Regions from separate parts of the Homo sapiens genome. Here regions 2, 3, 4 and 5 are each linked to region 1. Evidence: promoter capture Hi-C in 16 types of primary human blood cells and fetal thymus (Javierre and others, 2016). All regions are on one chromosome and are shown on one strand. The core of a region is centred on a gene start or on the middle of the fragment in contact, and the rest is flanking DNA. Distances in the headings are between cores, read along the strand shown.

Evidence for each region. The method cuts DNA at HindIII sites, captures the fragments that hold promoters and counts their contacts. A CHiCAGO score of 5 or more calls a contact.
Region 2: a fragment that was not itself captured here is called in contact with the fragment with the promoter of NRN1 in region 1 in 3 of 17 cell types (total B cells, naive B cells and M0 macrophages); the score reaches 5.9 in total B cells.
Region 3: a fragment that was not itself captured here is called in contact with the fragment with the promoter of NRN1 in region 1 in 2 of 17 cell types (naive B cells and total B cells); the score reaches 6.6 in naive B cells.
Region 4: a fragment that was not itself captured here is called in contact with the fragment with the promoter of NRN1 in region 1 in 1 of 17 cell types (total B cells); the score reaches 5.1 in total B cells.
Region 5: a fragment that was not itself captured here is called in contact with the fragment with the promoter of NRN1 in region 1 in 2 of 17 cell types (naive B cells and megakaryocytes); the score reaches 5.2 in naive B cells.

The regions. Positions count from the first base shown.
Region 1 is chr6:6,005,553-6,008,252 of GRCh38, forward strand. It overlaps NRN1 (neuritin 1), which reads right to left and starts at 1,373. Exons shown (of 3, transcript NM_016588.3): 1 at 1,143-1,373. The coding sequence starts at 1,197. The HindIII fragment of the contact is 16,379 bases long and covers 1-2,700 here.
Region 2 is chr6:5,491,615-5,494,314 of GRCh38, forward strand. All of the region lies in intron 4 of FARS2 (phenylalanyl-tRNA synthetase 2, mitochondrial), which reads left to right. Among named protein-coding and RNA genes, the nearest start is that of FARS2-AS1, 35 kb to the left of the region's middle. The HindIII fragment of the contact is 3,900 bases long and covers 1-2,700 here.
Region 3 is chr6:5,443,328-5,446,027 of GRCh38, forward strand. The region is part of intron 4 of FARS2 (phenylalanyl-tRNA synthetase 2, mitochondrial); the gene reads left to right. Among named protein-coding and RNA genes, the nearest start is that of FARS2-AS1, 13 kb to the right of the region's middle. The HindIII fragment of the contact is 224 bases long and covers 1,260-1,483 here.
Region 4 is chr6:6,584,242-6,586,941 of GRCh38, forward strand. The region is part of intron 1 of LY86-AS1 (LY86 antisense RNA 1); the gene reads right to left. Among named protein-coding and RNA genes, the nearest start is that of LY86, 3.1 kb to the right of the region's middle. RefSeq lists an enhancer at 842-951. The HindIII fragment of the contact is 3,216 bases long and covers 1-2,700 here.
Region 5 is chr6:6,528,566-6,531,265 of GRCh38, forward strand. All of the region lies in intron 3 of LY86-AS1 (LY86 antisense RNA 1), which reads right to left. Among named protein-coding and RNA genes, the nearest start is that of LY86, 59 kb to the right of the region's middle. The HindIII fragment of the contact is 1,850 bases long and covers 402-2,251 here.

The DNA of each region.
Region 1 (2,700 bases), core at 123-2,622:
TTATGGAAAAAACATATTATGCATTCTCCTTTCTTGCCCCAAACCAATTACCTAAAGCACCCCCTCCCCCAATACTGCAAGGATTTGTCTGCAAAGAATGCCACAGCCTGAACTGATAGGAGGTAACAATTCCGTTTCAGGAGTTTCTTTTTTCCCCCGTGTTGTCCATTCTATTAATAACCTGCTTCACTTTCACTTTTAGGCCACGTTAATTAATGTTCTGACCCAGTGTCGGAGAAGGGGGTTTTCTAGTGCCCTCTTCTATATCTTTTCTTCATTCTGGATGGTAAAAATGTGAACTTTAAAAAGACCCCTGACAGCGTAACTACAACTCAACATTCCTTAACATAAAATGGGGACTAAATAATTCCTTCCATAACCAATCCCAAACAAACAAAAATAACAAACACCCGACATGACATATTCCAAACACTTCTTAACCCTTTCCTATATATAAAATGCAGACACCAATGTGTAAAGTAGCAGGCAAATGCATCTAGAAAAGTATATCTACGTAAATTTGGCTGAATTCATCCTCTTCAATGGTAAGCATGTTAAAATATGTGGTCTGAAGTTCCCTATCACTCTCGATTTGCCCACCAGCCGGGTCTGCGGTGCCCGTGCAAACGCTGCAGCTAGGATATAGGGGGGAGGAGGGGCGGGAGAATGACAAAGTTCTAAATGCAGCAGTCTGAGCCCTGGAATATCTTTGCTTTCAGCACATAAACTTTCCAGTCCTGGCTGCCTAGCCATTTTATTCCTGCATTCACATTTCGACTCTTCAAAATCATATCTTGCAGTATCGCAGGGGCCAGTACATTGCCCCAGAGCGCACCAAACCTGGTATAAACCCAGAAAGGGAAACAAAAATGGATGTGTGCTCAGGAAAAAGGGGGAAAAAAACCGTGTCCAGAAAATGTCCGGCCGCACACATTTCCTGGCGAACATTTGGAATCTATAGCTTTAGGAAAAACCGATCTGGGACGCGCTAGTCCCCAGGAACTGATGCCCCCACCCTCGGGGGATTGCCGGCTTCTCCGCACCCTGGGGCGGCCGCGGACCCGCTAGTCCCCCTCCGCGCCTCGGGCCGGGGCAGGCTGCCTCCCGCCTCCAGCCTCCAGCCGGGCTGAGCGGCCACTTACCTATTTGCACCGCGAGGATCAGTGAAATATATCTGCCGTTCAACTTAAGTCCCATCCTACGTTTAGTCAAACCATTTGCGACCGCAGACCTTTAAATAGTTAGTTTAGAGAACGCGGGGGAAAGCCAAAAAATAGGCATTGCCAACAAGTTCCGGGAGCGACAGAGACTTTATGCACTGGGAAGGCAGAGGGAGGAGAGAAAGAGAGGGAGCGAGGAAGAGACAGAAAGAGAGAGAGAGAGAGAAAGAGAGAGAGAGAGAGAGGCTGAGGGGGGGGGGAGAGCTGGGAATGGTTCACTCCATTAGAAGGGGGCGGAGGAAGTACAGCCTCACGCCCACGAGCAGGCCTGACGTGGGGGATGACACGGAATGATTTTTTTTTTAATATAGACACCTTGGTAGAGAATCGCCATTTATAGTCATCAGAAGCTGGAATTAATCAGATATCTCCAATTAATGTGCGATCTGAACGAAATTTTGCCTCCCGGGGGTGAGCACTTTCCTATTCTAGCGGTCACCCCTGCCTCTTCCTCGTTCCGGGGGCCCCCCAGCCCCGCCGCCTCCCTGCGCAGAACAGGGGCTCCCCCTCCCTTCCCCGCCAGGAGCTGGGGAGTCCTGGCGCGCCCACTCGATTGTTTCAACCTGCTCCCCCTCCTCCATCAGCACCACAGAGAATCCAGCCCGCTCTCTACGATGCAGGGGGGTTTAAAGGAGCGGGAGAGGGAAAAACAGCTAAGCTAGCTCGATTAATTCGAAAGCGCTCCTCGGCCGCCCGCCCCCTGCGCTTGCCTACCCTCTTTTTCTCCAACCCAGCAGCTGAGCTCTGGGCGCAGCCTGGAGCGCGTGAGCACGCAGCCCGGCCCCCCGCACGAGCACACACACACACACACACACACACACACACAAACGCGCGCGCGCACGCCCGCCAGCCGCGCCGAGCGCCCCCATGCCCGCCCGCACACAAGGCACGCGAGCGCGCGCACACGCCCAGGCCCCGGGGGTTTGGTTTGCACACGTGGGGCCCCAGAAATAAACACCGAATGTCCTCTGAATTTTACCCACCTGCGATGCCCCAGCGGGCCAAAGGCCGCTTCAAGGGACACAGCGACACCTGTTTTAGGGGGCGAGTAGGGCACCGGGGAAGGAGCCTCTGATAAGACAGTTTTCGGATACTAGTGATTTACCAACCAACTCTCAGCGCTTTAGGAAATTTCCAAGGCAAGCGCTGGTGTGCGGACTTCTTTCTAATCTTGATGCGCCTCTTGGGCTTATTTGTTGGGCTACACACACACGTACCCACACGCACACACGTACATCACGTACGCACACGCACACCCGGACCCACACACACCTGCACTGTCTTTTGATGCTCAGGCACAGACCCTGTGTAGGTGTAGCCTACCCTGCAACAAAATACTTCTGCAGCTGGCTTTGTGCTAGGTGCAAGCTGCTATCGACGACAGCTTGAGTCAAAACCGAAAAACTAACAGGGCTATTTCCTTTCTAAACGCCTTTAAGCTCTGGTTTTCTTCCTTTCTTCTGCACCAAACAGAAAAAAA
Region 2 (2,700 bases), core at 91-2,590, 510 kb before region 1:
CTTCCCCGAAAGATATGAGCGTTTCTTCTTCTGCATATGCCATAGCACATTCGTCATTTTCTTACATGTTCATATTTTATAGTCATTGCTAATTTTTGTTTCCATTGTAATCTTACCCTCTTTCTCGCTAGTCCCTTTAACACCCACTGCTTCTGTACTCACCAGATATCACAGGCTACTGCCACTCTTGTGACACCTCACATGTAAGTATAAAGCACAATGAATTCCATGAAAATCATATCCAGTCAAATTAGCAGAATTTTCATAACACCTACCTCACGGTGCTATTGTAAAGATTTTTTTTTTTTCCTGGTATGTACATTCTTTTTGAGGTTAGAGATCTCCTTTTACAGGACTTAGTATCTAACAAATTCAGTAACCAAACTTCTTGACCTCCCCAATATTAGATCACTAAATGTGCAAAAGAACTACCGTTATCTAGGTCAATAAAAACTACTCATTTTCTATGAAACGGTATGTGCATAGATTTTAAAGCTGTGAAAATGCAATAAAGAGCACAACACATTTTGGTCACTTAATTAAATGACTTTTAATAAAGTAGTAGTAGTTTAAGTTTCAACTACCAAACAACACTTTGAATGGTGAAAACACAGATAGTATATTGTCATATTTGAACGCTTTTCTTTAAAAACATAATTCTAATTTGTGTATATATTACAAAACAGCCTTACAGAAAGAAGTGAGATCTTTCTACAGCACTTAAGATAACTCAATACAGGACTGATTTATTAAGATAGTGTATATTCGACTTTTCTAGCTCAAGAGATGAGTTAAAGGATAAACTCTGAAAAAGTAAAATGTATTATGTAAACATTGATAAAATATTACTATTTATTGCTGGTTTTATTTAAATGGGCATTTCTTCACAGCTTTATCTTAAGTACAGATTTAAAATTCTACCAGCAATATAATCATGTCAGCAAATATTTATTGAGTATCTGCTATGTATTAAGCATTGTACTAGGTCTGTAAATGCCAATGTTGGCAGTTGGCATATTTTCTATGAACTTTATTTTGTATTCAACAAGTATTTATCGAGCCCCTACCATGTTCTGGGCCTAGTATTGGCAGTGAATATATGAAAATGAGTAAGCTGAGAATCTCATATTCCAGGGAGTCCCAGTTGCAGAGGCTGATGTGGAGATGCACCACTGTGCCCGGCTTTCCCTGCAATCTTTTGTTTATGGAATTTGCAGAGTGGCTAGAGTGTATATAGCCTTACACTCTGCAGACCTTGCTCCTGCCCTGCCACCCACCACTTTAGGGTTTCCAATGTTATAAGCATGCCCTTGCGGGCTGGAGCTGATGTTTGCCTCTGCTTTTCCTGTAATATGGTCTCCATGGCTCACAGAGGCATCTACACATTTTTTTCCTTTGGATTGATTTTTTCTGCTATGGCCCTGTATTCTGTGTACTTATTTAGGAATGAGCCGCTTATTGGCCGGTGCCTGTAATCCCAGCTACTTGGGAGGCTGAGGCAGGAGAATTGCTTGAACCTGGAAGGTGGAGGTTGTAGTGAGCCGAGATCATGCCATTGCACTCCAGCCTGGGTGACAAGAGGGAGACTGTGTCTCAAAAAAAAAAAAAAAAAAAGAAAAAGAAAGAAATGAGCCACATATTGCACTATGTTGCTCTCTCATTACTTAACTGTTGGACAGTTGCTTTTCATTCTCATTTATTCCTCTTTTCTCCACTTAGAATTTAACATTCTAGAAGGTAGGGATCACATGTCTCTTAGTACAGTGCTCAGTGCAGAGCAACACTTAAGAAATACTGCTTTAAATGAAAGAAGGGTCTGACAAAACATTGATAGAACAAATGTCTTTTGATGTGTGGCTAGATGAAGACTGCAGTGTATCGACCTCCAAGAGGAATGGAAAGTCAAAGTCGCAGTCTCTATAGGGGACCTTATGTCTACCCCGGACCACCAAGCTGGGACTGGAGATCTAACTTCTAGCTGTATTGCCAACTAGCTCTGCGACATTGGACAGGTGACTTGATGGCTCTTAGACTGTTTCCTCATTTATAAAATGGGAGCAGTAGTATTAGCTATTCACGGAGTTGTTTTGAGGATTGAAAGACATGATGCACAGAAAGCACCCGGAATGAATGAAGGTCTCTTACATAGTAGGTGCTCACAAACGTTTAACAAATTATTTATGTTTTTCTCATAAAGCACTACAGATGTAATGACAGTTCAATGACTTTATAAAGTACAACATGCTGCACAAATATTTTACTGTCATTTGCTTTTATTTTGTCTCTTGTGTTAATGGCATACCCCTCTATATTATGAAAATACCAGTTTGGTTTAAAGACACAGTGGACAGTGTCATGTGATACAATGACAGTGAGTGCCAGCGCTATTTCAGCAGCAAGAATTATTGGAGTTCCTGTCAGAAGTTCATCTTGGGCCACTATTGGGGCCTTTCAATACTCCTTACGTTGTTTTTCTCTAGCTCTTGTTTTCTGTTTCCTCCTTTTTTTTTTCTTTTTTTTTTTTTGTGGTGTCAAGTAGGCTTTGTGAGGATGGTTTAAAATGTAGGGTATATACTCAGAGTTTAAATAGTCAGTGACTACTTGTTTGAGTCAGGTTTGGTTTTAAAAAGTAAAATTCTATGTTTTAGAACCATAATACCTTCAAAGAAAGCAGCAGCCCTGGTGATCATACCATCCACC
Region 3 (2,700 bases), core at 122-2,621, 560 kb before region 1:
TCTTTTATCAGACTGTAGTATTGTTCCAAGTTCTTCACCCCTCCCTGTATCTGTGCACTTGGTTCCCTGACTTTGAAGCACTGTCTGCTATGAGAAGAATATACTTCTCTGCCCTGTTGATTTGGAGCTTGCCCCTGTAACTGCTTTGGCTAAAGGGAAATTAGCAGATGTGACAGGAAAAGAGGCTTGAAATGTACTTGGCAGTTGTTTTTTTGCCCTTTTTAGCTTCTGCCATTATGAGGTGAACATGCCCTGTGTAGCTTGCTGGTTCCAGAACAGTAAGAAGCATGTGGAGTGGACCCGAACCAACCTCAGGGCCTGGAGCCCAGCCAGTCTGGACCAGCTGAGCCCCAGCCCCGCAGACAGGTGGTGGTTGTTGCATGCCACTGAGATTTTGTAGTGATTTGTTGATCAGCTGTAGCTGGCTGATAAAACATACATTGTAGTTGTCATATTCTTTTTCAGCTTACCGAGGGCTCATAGAATGCTTAAGAGTCTCTCTTCCAAAATCATTTCACAGAAAATTCAGCTCATTTATTTCTCTCAAGTATTTCCTCTTCACCTCCCTTTCTAACTTAGCAGGAAGGATATTTGGAAAGAACTTGACTTTTTTACTTCCCTCCCTCTGCAGAGAAGCCACTGAAATAGTTTCTCAGTATTTTAGTGGGCTGTGGTGGTGGTTCTGAAAACCAGACAGGGATTGGTGGTGGGAATGTCCTCTACATGGGAGGTTTTTGAAAAGCCACTGATATATGGAAGATCCTCGTGTGTGTGTGTGTGTGTGTGTGTGTGTGTGTGTATGTGTGCATGCACGCACGTGCATATGTTCGCAATATAATCTTTTTAAAATTTTAGCGCAGGCTGGGTGCAATGGCTCAAGCCTGTAATCCGAGCACTTTGGGAGGCCAATGTGGGCGGATCACAAGGTCAGGAGTTCGCGACCAGCCTGACCAACATGGTGAAGCCCCGTCTCTACTAAAAATACAAAAATTAGCTGGGCATGGTGTCAGGTGCCTGTAATCCCAGCTACTTGGGAGGCTGAGGCAGGAGAATCGCTTGAATCCGGGAGGCAGAGGTTGCAGTGAGCCGAGATTGCGCCATTGCACTCCAGCCTGGGTGACAAGGCGTGACTCTGTCTCAAAAAAAAAAAAAAAAAAAAAAAAAAAGAGAGAGAGAGAGAGAGAGAGGAAAAAATCTTAGTGCCAGGTGTCTGAATTTAATTAGTCTCAGGTCGAAGACTCTGGAATCAGTGGAATGTAAGCTTCATTAGGGCAGGGAATTTTTTTGGTTTTGATCACTATGGTATTCCCAGTTCCTAGAACAATGCCTAGCACATAGAAGACACTCAATATCCATATATAAATTAGATGGATGGCTGTGTGGGTGGGTGGACCCCCCACTCCTCATCCCAATGTTCGTTATTCTTTCTTCAGGCTCATGGAAACAGTAAAATGGGGCGGGGGGGAACTGACCTAATTTTTGAAGCTTGCTCGTGGCTCTTTCTGCCCTCAGCTGCTCAGTACAATTCCCAGTTTCCAAGGATGGGCAGTGGGAAGCACATTGGCCTCAGAGTGAAGACCTGGCTCCAGTCAGGCCTGGCCACCAGCTGGGCTGGAGATCTTGGGCAAGTCCTGTGGGTCTCAGTTTCTTCATCTGTAAGATGAGGGGCCTAAATTATATAATTTTCAGATTTCATTTTAACTCTCAAATCTTCAACAGCCTAGAGTTTCTTAATAAAACCCATAGAGGATTGTGTTTTGTTGTATAGCACCACATAGAAAATTGCCTAGCAGCAGGACTTGGGTGTATATGGTTGGTTAATCAGGGTTTTTCTTCCTCTTAAAGAAATTCTTAGAGACCTTTAAAAAAAAAGAGAGAAAAAGAGGATGCTCATATAATTGGATTTTATTTAAACTATTTATGAAACTCTTGCTTCATGGGATCACTGCAGCTTTGCAGGCAGGTAGTGATGTGCTCTCAGTGGCTCAGTTTTATTTTCTCCCCTGCAAAAAGGCAATTTAGAAGTTTAGGAATTATTTATGGTACTGTGGGGATAAACACAATCTGCTAAGTTATTTTTCTTATATCATTTTTTTTCAAGGTTCATTCCTGTATTTTAGGCTGGAAGCAATGTCTTCATGAAATGGCCATGTTGTTATGTCCGTGAACAAAATGAGGCAATGTCATCACTAGGCAAAATTTATGCCAGGTTTTAAAATTGTGATTCTTAATTGGTATAATTCAAGAATTGGATATTACTGGGTGATTCTCAGAAATAAAGACTTGATAGTCACCTAAGTATGGCAAATGATGGTCTGAAAAAGTTTGAGTTTTCTTTACTGGAGAGTGTCTCCAAGCTCGGAAGAAGTAGCTCTGTTTGAGGGAGGGAGTGTGCCGTATTTTCCAGACTTCTTTGACCAGAGAATCCCTTCATGAAAAGATTTCTTCTATGGATCCTGTCCCAAGAAGGACACATGGGGACATGCCCATCCATTGGCTGCTGGGATTGACAGTAACCTAGGAGGCTGAAGGAAGTGTTTTCTGGGGAAGCAGGGACAAACTACAGTAAGATACTCTTTAAAAATTTTGTGGCCAGGTGCGGTGGCTCACGCCTGTAATCCCAGCACTTGGGGAGGCCGAGGCAGGCAGATCACGAGGTCAGGAGATCAAGACCATCCTGGCTAACATGGTGAAACCCCG
Region 4 (2,700 bases), core at 23-2,522, 580 kb after region 1:
AATATATAATGAAAGAATTATACAACTCACCATAATACAGAATGAATGGGAGGGCTGAGCTTGTTTTCCTGCAACTAGATGGTCCCATCTGGGGGTGATGGGGGACAGTGACAGATCATCAGGCATTAGATTCTCATAAGGAGTGTGCAACCTAGATCTCTCGCATGCACAGTTCACAATAGGGTTTGCTTTCTTATGAGAATCTAATGCCACTGCTGATCTGACAGGAGGCAGAGCTCAGGCGGTAATGCGAGCAATGGGGAGCAGCTATAGAGATGAAGCCTCGCTCACCTCCTGCTGTGCTGCCCAGTTTGTAAGAGGTCATGGACCAGTACTGGTCTGTGGCCCAGGGGTTAGGGACCCCCTGATCTAGAAGACAAAGGCAGGATGTGATCAAACCTGTCTCTTCCCACTGCAGTGTGGCAGAAACTCAGACAGGCCACAGAGAAAAAACCAAAGTAGCAGCGCTATGCAAAGGGAAATTTTTGCCTAATATAATAAAGATCTGAGGGAAATGAGAGGAGAGCACCCACAGTCGGATACAAATGATGAGGAAGGTACATTTGCCACTGGAGACAGAGTGCTACATCATCACTGTGTAGCGTCAAGACTAGTTAGGACTGTCTGCCATCTACTGGCACATGTAATGTAGGTTACATTGGCCCAAACCCCCTTTCCCTGACCTTTTGTGGGTCACAGAGTGGAGAGGGCTGTCACATTGCACACTGCACAGGAAGCAATGCAGAATCTGTTCCTAAGGGACCTTTGCTTGTCCCACCTGCTGGCAGGCTGCTTCCCTCCACTCCACAGCAGCCAATCACCTGCTTATCTCTCCTCTCCCCTTCTCTCCTCCTCTCCTCTCCTCTCTCCCCTCCAGGCCTTTCTTTTTTCTCCCCTCACTCCCTGGAGTATTGTATTTTCTCTTGTGGCACAGCTTCACCCTTACTTGCTTACATACATAGCTGGACTCCTGCCCCCAGAGTCTCACATTTGATTCTTTAAGTCTCTCCTCAAACAAACATTTTCTCCTTAAGAACGGCTTTAGGGATGGTCATCTTGATAAGAATATTTTTACTCTGCAAGAAAAGAAAGGCACCGTCCTCAAGAAGACCTCTATGAAAGGAAAGCAAGGGTGGGTGCAGTGGCTCACGTCTGTAATCCCAGCACTTTGGGAGGCTGAGGTGGGTGAATCACCTGAGGTCAGGAGTTCAAGACTAGCCTGGCCAACACGGCAAAACCCTGTCTCTACTAAAAATACAAAAATTAGCTGGACATGGTGGTACACGTCTATAATCCCAGCTGCTTGGGAGGCTGAGGCAGGAGAATCACTTGAACCCGGGAGGCAGAGGTTGCAGTGAGCTGAAATCATGCCACTGCACTCCAGCCTGGGTGACAGAGTGAGACTTCGTCTCAAAAAAATAAAATAAAATTATATATATATATATATGAAGGAGAGCAGTGTGAGACATGGAAGAAGAGGAGGATTGTCCAAAAAGTAGAAAAGAAATCTGAATGAGACCAGAGCACAGCTTCTTCAGCTACAGCCTGCTAAGAGATTAGAAGTCAGCATCAAAGCCTGACAGTATGTGTGTGTTTGGTTACCATTACGTAGACATAACCATATTTTAAATAACTACCATAAACCGATTCTAATTTTATTCTATAATTAGGGAATAGGACATTCTCAAAGAACACTCTGGCTGTCTTTATAAAGGTTCTAGTTAAAGAACTCCAGACATCATTATGGGTTGATTTCTGAACTAGACGGCCATAACTAATGATTTCAATCAAATCCCATTTTCAGTAGGCAGAACTAGTAAGTAGAATTCCTTAGAGAATGTGGCTTACTCTTAATCCTATATGGGTATGTTATATATGTGTTATATAAAATGCCATCTGTCATAAAACAAAACATTTTATTAAGAAGATTTTTTTTAATTGTACATTCTGCAAATGATCAAATTCTGTAAGCTAAACCAGAGGTCCTCAGAATGTGGCCCCAGATCAACAACACTGGCATCACCTGGGAACATGTTAGAAACACAGGTTCTCAGGCCTCACCAGACACACAGGAGCAGAAACTCTGGGGTGGGGTCCAGCAATCTGCATGTTAACAAGCCCCCCAGCTGACGCTGATGCCCTGAAGACCACTCTAGCCTGAAGACCAATGTCCTAGGGTCACCATGATCACAAGGTTCCTGATTGGTCCATTTGGAATATTTCTAAATGCTAGTGCGATCCCTGAATTATGATTCCTTTCATTTCCAGGTCTTTTGATTCTCAAGAATCTGTACCCCTGTCTTCAGATGACACTGTTTCTGCAATAAAGCCAATGTTTGTGGCCCTGCCCAAACTCATATGTTGAAATCCTAAGCCTCAAGGTGATGGTATTAGGAGGAAAGGCCTTTGGGAGGTGATTAGGTCATAAGAATGGAGCTCTCATACATGGGATTAGTGCCTTTATAAAAGAGGCCTAAGAGAAACCCTTCGCCCCTTCCACCATGTGAGGGCACAGCCAGAAGGCACCATTTGTGAACCAGAGGCCCCTCACCAGACACTGAATCTTCTAGCACCTTAATCTCCAACTTTGGACCTCCACCCTCCAAAATGGTGAGAAATAAATGCTTGTCATTTAAGCCACCCAGTCTAAGGTATTTGTTATGGCAGCCAGAACATACTAAGACCATTTCCCTGCCACAG
Region 5 (2,700 bases), core at 77-2,576, 520 kb after region 1:
TGACCCAGAGCTAAGCCTACCTAAACATCCAGCTGACCCCTGACCCAGAGCCAAGCCTGCCTAAACACCCAACTGACCCACGGATGTATCACTGATAATAAATTGCTGTGTTTTAAGTCATTTAGTTCTGTGTAAGTTTATTTCACAGCGTTCTTTTGACAACGACTGACTGATACACTAATATAGCTTTCAGTCAGTATTTAATGGCTATAAATAGTATATACATTATGTAATAGAAACTTCTAAACAGGCTTCTCTGATTTTTCCTTGTTAGTAAAGGGTGCCTCCCACTATGGAGTCCTTTAATTCCACACACTTGCTTCCACAGTCTCTTTTATAATATATATAAAATGCTAGTCAATGGGACCAAAGAAAACATCCACTAATGGACTTCTGGCAAAAGCTTTCCTCTGTAATAAAAAGAGATGCATGGGAAGCTATAACCCTCTTCTTCTACACTGGCTGTGATCATGCCTGTGTGTGATGTTCACAGCTGCTACAATCATCTTGTGGCCAGTGGGAAAAATAACACTGACTTACAGAGGACGGTAGAGCAGAAAGATGAAATTGACCCGAGTCTTTGGTTACACCACTGAGCTGCTAATGCTTCCTCTAGAACGCTTGTTGTTACATGAGACAATTTAGGTTCTTACTATTTAAGCCAATTTAAGTAGAAATGCTAAAAGCATTCATAATTATCCATGAATCTCAACTCATTTTCCCATTAATCTCAACTCCTAGATATGAACAGGCACATCCGTAAGAGGACAGATGTGATTGTGCTCATTACAATATTGTTTTCTGACAGCAAGTACCCGGAGGTTACCTAAGTGTCCGCCACTTGGAACATGGATGATTAAAATGCCAATGATGAAATGTTAGGCAATAATCAAAAGTAGTAAGCTATATCTAGATAAGAAATTTGAATAAATCTCAAAAACATGGAGTGAAGTAATAAAAGTTAAAACATAGAATAAAATATAAAACACAGTTCCATTTACTTAAAGAATGTAAACACAAGACAACATTACAAATTTTCCAACCATTCATATATATTTAAGGAAAAGTATTAAAAACATTACAGCATGTGCTTAAGTAGGATACAAGAACGTTGGCAGGATTGGGGCATGAAAAAGAAAAATAATTAATTAAAAATCTGAGTACTTATACCAGTTGTTGCTACATAATGAATTATCCTAAAAAGTAGTAGCATTTTGGCAGAATTGGGGTCTCTCTTCATTGCCTAGGCAGATCTTGAACTCCTGGCTTCAAGTGTTCCTGCCACCTTGACCTCCCAAAGTGCTAAATTACAGGCATGTGCCACCACACCTGGCCTGTAGTAGCTTTACAACAATAAATGTTTATTATCTCAAAGTTTGTATGGGTTAGGAATCCAGGCATGGCTTAGCTAGATGCTTCTGACTCATGGTCTCTCAGATGACTCCAGTCAAGGGTTGGGCTGCAGTCTCATCTGAAAGTTCAGATGACAGTCTGAGGATCCATTGTTAAGCTCACCAACATGGTTATTAGCCACAGGATTTAGTTCCTTGTGGGCTGTTGGACTAAGGGCCTGAGTTCTTCATGGCCGTTGGTTCCTTGCCATATGAGTCTCTTTATAGGGCAGCCCACAGCACAGCAGCTTGATTCCTCAGAGCAAGTGACAGAGCAGGAGATAGTATGTACAAGTTGGAAGCCACGGTCTCATGTTTGCTGTATTCAATTTATTAGAAGCAAGTCACTAGGTCCAGCCCACACTTAAGGGAAGAGTATTACATGGGGGAATGAGAACCAGGAAGTGGGGATCACTGGGGGCCACCTTAGAAGCTCCCTACCTCAGTGCCATGACCAGTGATGATCACTTATCATGAACTGAGGAGCCTAATCACTTCAACTTGGTGTTCCCATGCTCCAAAAAATGAAAGGCAAACCAGATGGCAAAAAGAACCAGTGTGGCTTTGACTTTTATATATTTGCAGATCAAGTTCTAGATAATTGACATTAAATAGTTCTTGACAGACTGAGAAGTTATTTGGGACAACATGCTGACTTTAGGTATGTAACTATTAAGAAACACAGGGGAAAAAAATCACAGTTTTTTAGGTAAGATAAAATATCAAGAAGCAGAAAGAAGAAAGTGAATATTAGTATTGTTTCTATGAAAACAGCAGCAAATCCAGATTTAATGTAAAAAATACTGTTCTATATGATAAAACTTTTTGATGTAGATTTGGATAACTCTATAATCAGAGAAAGCTTTTAAGATTCCCTTATTTAACAGGAGGAGAATCAGAGGTTCACATGGCCAGTGACTTACCTGGGGTCATTATAGGCACCTACCCTGGGTCAAGCCACTCTTTTACCAAGCAGAATTGCTTGTCAGAGTGAAAATGTGATATTTGCAGCCTCCAAGTAGAATCTAGTCTGATTCTAAATGGGCTAGACTTGGCAAAATCTTTCTTCCTTTCCCAGGAAATTTACATCAAAGAGTTAATTGCATTAAATTGCTCTGTATTTAACTTCCGTGTCTGCTAACAAGCAAAATATCAATAACAGTCTCCATTTGCTGTGTAAACCGGAGAAGGACTTCTTTTATTTTGTTTCAGTACTATTTTTCTAAAGCTCTCTTTCTTTTTATGCTCCTCATCACAGTGTAAGTCCATGAAAAATTAACGCCCCTGTTCAGCAGGGAGGCTAGCTCCT